Linked DNA regions of Homo sapiens: region 1 is linked to region 2. The links are contacts of gene promoters, found by promoter capture Hi-C in human tissues and cell types (Jung and others, 2019). All regions are on one chromosome and are shown on one strand. Each heading gives the region's core, a stretch centred on a gene start or on the middle of the fragment in contact. The rest is flanking DNA. Distances are from core to core; before and after follow the strand shown. Region 1 has its middle 19 kb from the start of JARID2-DT. Region 2 holds the start of RNF182 (ring finger protein 182).

What was found. Contacts are between HindIII fragments. The study calls those that stand out against the background at their distance.
Region 1: a contact is called between a fragment that was not itself captured here and the fragment with the promoter of RNF182 in region 2, in 1 of the 25 tissues and cell types used here (lymphoblastoid cells).

What each region holds. Positions count from the first base shown.
Region 1 is chr6:15,224,394-15,228,654 of GRCh38, reverse strand. No RefSeq gene overlaps it. Among named protein-coding and RNA genes, the nearest start is that of JARID2-DT, 19 kb to the left of the region's middle. The HindIII fragment of the contact is 9,363 bases long and covers 1-4,261 here.
Region 2 is chr6:13,923,246-13,927,338 of GRCh38, reverse strand. It overlaps RNF182 (ring finger protein 182), which reads right to left and starts at 2,387. Exons shown (of 3, transcript NM_152737.4): 1 at 2,316-2,387. RefSeq lists an enhancer at 2,992-3,492. The HindIII fragment of the contact is 4,770 bases long and covers 1-3,631 here.

The sequences.
Region 1 (4,261 bases), core at 1,723-4,222, 1.3 Mb before region 2:
ATTAGCACTGAAAGCCCTACATTCCAGAAATTTCAGTCCTGGGCATACCAGTGAGGTTAGTCACCGTAGCTTGGAAAGACATTTGAGACTGCAAGTTGCATGAGGGCAAAGCCTTTGTTTCATTCTTTTCTCTTTTTTTTTGAAACAGAGTCTCATTCTGTCGCCCAGGCTGGAATGCAGTGGCGCGATCTGGGCTCACTGCAACCTCCGCCTCCCAGGTTCAAGAGTTTATTTTGCCTCGGCCTCCCGAGTAGCTGGGATTACAGGTGCATACTCCCACACCTGGCTAATTTTCATACTTTTAGTAGAAATGGTTTCACCAGGTTGGCCAGGCTGGTCTCAAACTCCTGACCTCAGGTGATCCACCTGCCTCGGCCTCCCAGGGTGCTCAGATTACAGGCGCCACTGTGCCGGCCTCTTTGTTCCATTCTTGGCTGTGCATCCAATGAAGGGCAGAACAAGCTCTCAATAAATATTTTCAGAATGACTGAATCAATCAATGTCCTCTGAAATAAGGCTGCTGTCTTCATACCCATTTCTCTGAACACTTGGAAGCAAAGGCACATAAATTACAGTTACCAAGTGCCGTCCCTGCCATGCATTCGGACTCTGATCCAAAGTGGTGAGTTTACAGACATGAGCCACCACACCCAGCCCCTGCATCTGATCTCTGATCCACCAAGAAGACTTTCTCCACCTGAGTTACCTTTCCAGGACTCCCAGGAAATTCTTTCAATTCTTGGTCACTCTTAACCAAAAGCGTAACTCCCACCTTAGACCTGGAGGCGAATCCTTAAAAGCTGTGATTTTAAAGCCAGCTGTAGTGGAGAGTCGGGGTGGGGGGGTGGCACAACTTCCAAAATCCAAGGTTAATAGGCTGTGAATTGCCACTTTCTTTGCTCATTGTCTGTGCTTCAACAGTTCCTTTAACCTACTGTCATTCAGCTTGGGGAGGAGAAGAAAGTAGGAATGGCACCAGCTGCAAGGGAGAGGCTGACAACAATGCTCTCCCCTCCCCTCGCCCCCCACTCCCACCCCGCTTGTCCCCCCAAAGCACCAGGCATTCAGTTATACAGTATATATTTATACAGCCTACCCAATGCGAATTCAAATTTATTTCCAAGTCATTAGGGCCAATTACTCACCTTTGGGCCCTGTAATATCATTTGTTTCCTGCCAAACCGAATGTTTTTCCTGTCGCAAATATGATAAATCCTGCATAGTGACGTTCAATCATGTTTAAACTGATTCAGATTGTGGTAGGAATTGGGTTGTATGCATGGATGGACTAAGTCATGAAATGTAGACCTCATGGATGATTATTTTAATTTGAGAATAATTCAGTCCTATGGAGGAGAATTGGCTTACTCAGAAGGTCCTACTATGAATACCGGTACTACTTATTTCCATTAATTTGGCCACGACTTGAAAGAATGCAAATTTTTTTCCCTTATTTTTGCCATTAAGGACTCAATTTGCTTTCTTCTCTAGCTTTCAAAAATATATTGAATTCAGCCGGGCACAGGGGCTCACACCTGTAATCCCAGCACTTTGGGAGGCCAAGCAAGGTGGATCACCTGAGGTCAGGAGTTCGAGACCAGCGTGGCCAACATGGTAAAACCCTGTCTCTACTAAAAATACAAAATCAGCCAGGCATGGTGGCACATTCCTGTAATCCCAGCTACTTGGGAGTCTCAGGCAGGAAAATAGCTTGAATCCGGGAGGCAGAGGTTACAGTGAGCCAAGATCCTGCCATTGCACTCCAGCCTGAGCAAAAACTCCAACTCAAAAAAAAAAAAAAAAGGCTGGGCTTGGTGGCTCACACCTGTAATCCTAGCAATTTGGGAGGCCAAGGTGGATGGATCATTTGAGGTCAGGAGTTCGAGACTGGCCTGGCCAACATGGTGAAACCCTGTCTCTACTGAAATACAAAAATTAGCTGGGCATGGTGTTGCGCGCCTGTAATCCCAGCTACTCAGGAGGCTGAGGCAGAAGAATCGCTTGAACCTGGGAGGCAGAGGTTGCAGTGAGCCAAGATCGCACCACTGCACTCCAGCCTGGGCCACAGCTAGACTCTGTCTCAAAAAAAAAAAAAAAAAAAGACTCAAGCCATCTGCTTAGTCCTCCCAAAGTGTTGGGATTACAGACATGAGCCACGGCGCCCAGCCCCTGTGTGTGATGTCTGATCTTGACATTGAAGGGAGTAAAAAGTCATGTAAAAAATGGCCCTTGCCTATAAGGAACAAAAGTATATCCTCAATAAAATACTGCCTGCCCTGTGGGAGACTGCAGTCTACATGAAAAAAAAAAAGGGCCAGGTGTGGTGGCTCACGTGTGTAATCCCAGCACTTTGGGAGGCTGGGGCAGGTGGATTGCCTGAGCTCAGGAGTTCCAGACCAGCCTGGGCAACACAGTGAAACCCCATCTATAAGAAAATACAAAAAATTAGCTGGGCGTGGTGGCATGCACCTGTAGTCCTAGCTACTCAGGAGGCTGAGGCAGGAGAATGGCTTGAACCCAGGAGGTGGAAGTTGCAGTGAGCTGATATCATACCACTGCACTCCAGCCTGGGCGACAGAGTGAGACTCTGTCTCAAAAAAAAAAAAAAAAAAACAAAAAAACAAAAAAACAAAAAAACCAGATATGCACATGGAAAAAAAAGACATACAGAAATTGTACATCAGTGCCCATGATAAGTTTCCAAGAAGGTCCAGCCCATAAATTCTCAGGGTTTCTTCCCCAGACCAGGGGTATCAGGGTCTCTTATTATTTGTTGTAAATGCAAATTACCCAGCCCTTCTGAATGAGAAACTGGGGCGGCGGGTGGGGGGGCACCCAGCAATGTGTGTTTTAACAAGCTGGCTAGGGAACTGTGAGGTTCATTCAGGTTTGAGAATTCAGGTTTATGTAGATGTTTTAGTTCCCTGTTCCTTGCAGGAGTGATGTGGAAGGAACCAGCAAGGAAGCTGCAAACCGATTCTGGCCTAGCAGCTCCTTTTTTTTTTTTTTTTTTTTATGGAGTCTTGCTCAGCTGCCCAGGCTGGAGTGCAGTGGCTCAATCTCGGCTCACTGCAACCACTGTCTCCCAGGTTCAAGTGATTCTCCTGTCTCAGCCTCCCAAGTAGCTGGAATTATAGGCAACCGCCATCATGTCTGGCTAATTTTTATATTTTAGTAGAGACGGGGTTTCACCATGTTGGCCAGGCTGGTCTTGAATTCCTGACCTCAGGTGAACCATCCTCCTCGGCCTCCCAAAGTACTAGGATTACAGGCTCGAGCCACTGCACCTGACTGGCAGCTCCTTTATAAGATTTTAATTTCCCAAACTACCTAGTAAATTTCGTTATAGATAACACTCTCTTCAACTATAGTGGTTTTTGTTGTTGTTTTGTTTTTTTTCAGAATCCCACTCCATTGCCAGGCTGGAGTGCAGTGGCGTGATCTCAGCTCACTGCAACCTCCACCTCCCAGGTTCAAGCGATTCTCCTGCCTCAGCCTCCTGAGTAGCTGGGACTACAGGTGCGCACCACCATGCCCAGCTAATTTTTGTATTTTTAGTAGAGACGGGGTTTCACCATATAGGCCAGGATGGTCTCGATCTCCTGACCTCGTGATCCACCTTCCTCTGCCTCCCAAAGTGCTGTGATTACAGGCGTGAGCTACCACGCCCAGCCTATAGTGTTTTTCTTCAGTCACTGGTGTTAAAGGGTATTTATGTGTGATTGTCTAATTACCTCCCTTCATTAGACTACAAACCCCAAGAGGGTTCGACTTTGGGTTCTACTTCATTCCCAACTCCTGATAGTTTGCTGACGTTAAATGTTAATATGTTTCTTGCTGTCCCAAAATTTCATATTTTCCCCTAATTTGTTGTAGATATATTAAGGACCTGTTATGTATCTGATCTCTCTTTAAAAAACAAAAAAAAGAGAGAGAAATGGGGTTTCACCATGTTGCCCAGGCTGGTCTCAAAGTCCTGGGCTCAAGCCATCCGCTTAGTCTTCCCAAAGTGTTGGGATTACAAGCCTGAGCCACGGCGCCCAACCCCTGTGTCTGATGCCTGATCTTGATATTGAAGGGAGTAAAAAGTCATGTAAAAAATGACCCTTGCCTATAAGGAACAAAATTATATCCTCAAGAGAAATTAAATAACAGCATAAGGTGGCCTATGATTATGTACAAATAAACATTTTAGATTAGATTAAGAAATATCATAGAATTCATAGCCGGGCATGGTGGCGGGTGCCTGTAATCCCAGCTA
Region 2 (4,093 bases), core at 1,138-3,637:
ACCATGGACAGAAAACACAATTGCTGTTTGCATTTTCTAAGGACATATTGCAGATATCATAGTATTTTTTCTTTCATTATCTGGTTATGCACATACCTCAGAACACTAGTAACACATATAAACATGCCAGATTATTGTTTTCCACTGCACTGACACAAGCTTCATTTCATGCTTCGGAGCTCTTATTAATAAGCCACTACAACCAAGCAGTGCATGCAATACATGATTGTTGATTTCTGTATACCGACTTTATTTTTTGGCAGAAAATGATGCAGCTCTGAAGAAGCCAAACTATATTGAATGTTGTGCCCGTGTGAGCTAGCAGCAAAGGCAAAGCACCGGTCCTTACTGTGCTAAATTCACCATGGATATCTCCGTTCTTCAGCACTCAGATTAAGGGCCACAACATAAATGTTTAGGCTAGAACTCACAGTGTGGGTTTCATCTGGCAGAAAGCACGGACCAAGTCCTTGAACTTGAATACTGGTTTTGCTAACAAAGATCTGAATAAAGCTGTTCTGTTGGTCCCTCAGGAAAAAAAAAAAAACACACACACACACACAAACACACAAAATAATTTATTTTTAGTACAAAACATAAAACTACATTCTCTGTCTATATAATGTGCCTAGGCTTCAATATCCTATTTGCTGTTCATGCTTAAGTGAGAAAATACTTTTCTCTCCCGTTTATCTTCTCAAAACAGATCTACTTCGTTTTAATCAATGTACGATTTTATTACCGTCATGAAAGAGTATTTAGCAGAGCATCTGTGAATCTTCCACAGGTAAAATTCAGTTTAAAAACAAGCCCAATTGTGAAATAACCTGCAAACTGTTAATTGCAACTTCAATCCTTTAGTTTCCAATACAATCTTCTAATGAAGTGGCATTACTTGAAGTTGCTGGCAAATATGAACAGACTGAGAAACCTAGTAATCAGCAGGCTAACAGGTGTTGAAATCCCAAAAGAGGGAAGAGGAATATTAAATAATCACTCTTTGCCTGACACCTCAAGTAGCTGTAATATGCAGAATTCCAATCAACTTAACTGCAATTCAAAATGATCAGTGGTACTGTTTTCATTAATTACTCTCTAGCAAAAATATAATTTCTTGCATTCCATATAGTTCTTTAAATGACCTATTCCAACTTATACATTATTTTACTAAGTTGGATATACAATTTTATATGTTAGATTATTTTCCAGTTATCAATATGACATCTCATATTGTTTAAATATGATTTAAAACAAATCTTATTAACATATATACAATTTCCTTCTGAATTGATCAACTGTATTTCTGAAAATGTATCTGTTTTCTTTCATATTACTACATGTAAGATGATGTCTAAGTACCAAAAAAAAAAGTCTTCACAGTCACAATTTAAATCTGTGCTTCGCGTCTGCAACAAACTATCACGAAATGATTGCAAGGGTTGGGGCCACTGAGAAAGGTACCTATAACCTATCCAGTGCCCCAGTGGCAACCGCATCGTGGTCCTCATCATCCCACTCATAAACACCGATGCAAACACCGCCCAGCTACCTGCCTCCAGAGGTGCTTTGGATTGCCTCCCTACACATAAAAACAAAAGGCACTTTCCAGTTCCTTACAGCATGAACACAATACCTTCTAGAAACAAAAGCAATGACCTCGGTGCCAAGTATCTCCTTGACAAAGTATCGGTACTGCTCTACATTCTGGTCTTGCTAGTCGGGGAAAGCCGGGCTACCCTTACCATCCAGTTATAGGTGCAACTGCACCTTCCAAAGAAAAAAAGGTCTTTCGATTCAATATCCAAACGAACTTCAGAAGCCTCCTCAAAATGCTTCAGCCACAGGCATAAAAATGGGCTCACTTTTCAGAGATTCGTAAAAATCTTTCGCTTGTCCCTCTTACTACCCTCCCAACCCCTCCTCAAAGAGAATGCCATGAAACATGAAAGTCCAAAGGTAAATACTTTCATACCTTTTTTTCCCCCAAAAGCCTCGATGGCACGCCAAGAAGGAAAATAACAACAACAACAGAGGGGCAGCTCCCTGAGCAGGTGCAGCCCGCGCGGGCGCTCCGCAGCCGCCCTCCGCCGCACAGCCCCTCAAGTTGGTGCCAGGACGGCGGCCCCCGTGGTGCCCGGAGGGAGACTCCGCGCGCGGGCCCCGGCGCCGCTCGGCCCGAAGTTTGCCGCCCCCTCTCCTCGGCGCGCTTGGGCGGCCCGGCGCCGTCCAGGACTGCGGGGCTGGCTGCTGCCCCAGCGTTGGGGAGGCCCGGCGTCCCGCCGACCCCTCCCCGGCCGCGGGCGCGATCGCCTTACCTGGCCGGCGGCGGCCCAGGGCCCGGGAGCCGCTCCGGCTGCGGCGGCGCCTGGGAGGGGAGGGAGGTTCCCGTGGAGGAGGAGCTCGCGCGAGGAGCTAGCGGGCTGGCGGGCGGGCGGCTTTGTCTCTACGGCGCTGAGCCGCCGACCCTGCGTCACCATGGCAACCGCCGGGGCCCCCCCGGCCCTTCCCCTCAGCAGTCCGGGTATTCGGAGAGGACAAGGACCCCCGATGGGCCGCCACCACCACAAACACGCCCCTCTCTCAGTCTCCCTCACAAACCGCCTGTTTCTCCCCAGCGAGAGGGGAAGGCTAAAGCGGAGCGAGCCCAGGGCCAAGTGGTATTCGCATCCTAGTAGGCACTCCTTTGCTTCCCCACACTGGACATTCCAACTCCCGTCGCACCACCATCCCCCCCACAGACACCCTCCACCACTACCACCACCACACCTTTCTCCTGTGGAGCTGTACCCTCAAAATGGAAATTCACTTAAGGGAGGAGAAAGAGCAATGCAAAGTGATAAAGTGTTGAGCAACTGGTACTCGGTTCTCCTGTTGCAACTGCCGCAGCATGCACGGAGCTGCCAAGGGACGCCGTGCCGCCTCCTCCCTCTCCCCCTCCTCCTCCTCTCTCTTTTAGCAAGCTTTGCCTCTGCTGGATGTGGTCTCACTCCACCCAACCCGTGTATCTGTCTTGTTGAGGGCTCCCGTAGGAGAGAGGGGAAAGGGGGCTTTATCTCTGATGTAAACACTGGATACACTTGTAACCTCAGAAGCTGAAACACAACTTTCAGGCTGCAGTATGGATCTCAGCTGCTGCCACACTGCGCAGCTACTGGCTGTGACCGCTAAGCATCTACCATGAGCCCTGAGTGACTCTGTGCCAAGGACTGGTCACGTACTGCAGGCCATGGCACTCAGGAGCAGAGAAAAGAAAGCTAACTTTTTCCTCTCCTGAGGAAATTCTTAGAGAGGGAGAGAAAAGTACCAGCAGACCCTTGGTCATGCTTCCTCTAAAGGACGAACTAGAGGGCAGCCTCCATGGGGGGAGTGAGTCATCCCTCCATACTGTTTTCTTGAAAGATCCGTTGCTGAATCCAAAAGCTACAGTGTCTTTCTTCAAACCCTGGGGAACATGACATTTATTTTTTGGCATTTGTGAATCACCAAAGGAATGTCAATGATTTATAATAAAATCCACGGTAGCTGATGTTTTCTGGGTTTACTACTTGAGAAGCCACAAAGCAGAACAATGTTATTGCCATTTGAAGGTACACCTATATTAACTAATGAAAAGATAAGATCTATTTCATGGTGGAAAAGGAAAACAGTTTGTTCCTCGGAGAGACTGGCCACTTTCTTGTAATGGGAATATTCTGAATGAAGTCAATAATATTCCAGATGAAGTCAAAAGACAAGGTCTTTTTGGCAGGCCATTAAGCATTTGGCAATACCTGCCAGAATTCAAAATGCACATACATTTCTCCCAGCTATCTCAATTCTAGAGATCTGTCATACAGAAACACACAAATGTGTAATGATAGATATAAAAGGATATGCATTGCAGAAGTTTTGTAATAGTAAATGTTTGAAACAACTTATATGCCCATCAATAGTGATATGGTTAAATAATGTGGCACTTCATACCATGTAATACTATGCATCCATTAATAAGAATAAAATATATAAAATTCATAGATATTGATTTCTTATTAAATGGAAAAGGGGGGCTCAGAACCGTATGTGTGGGTGATCCCATTCTGTACAAAAAAACTGG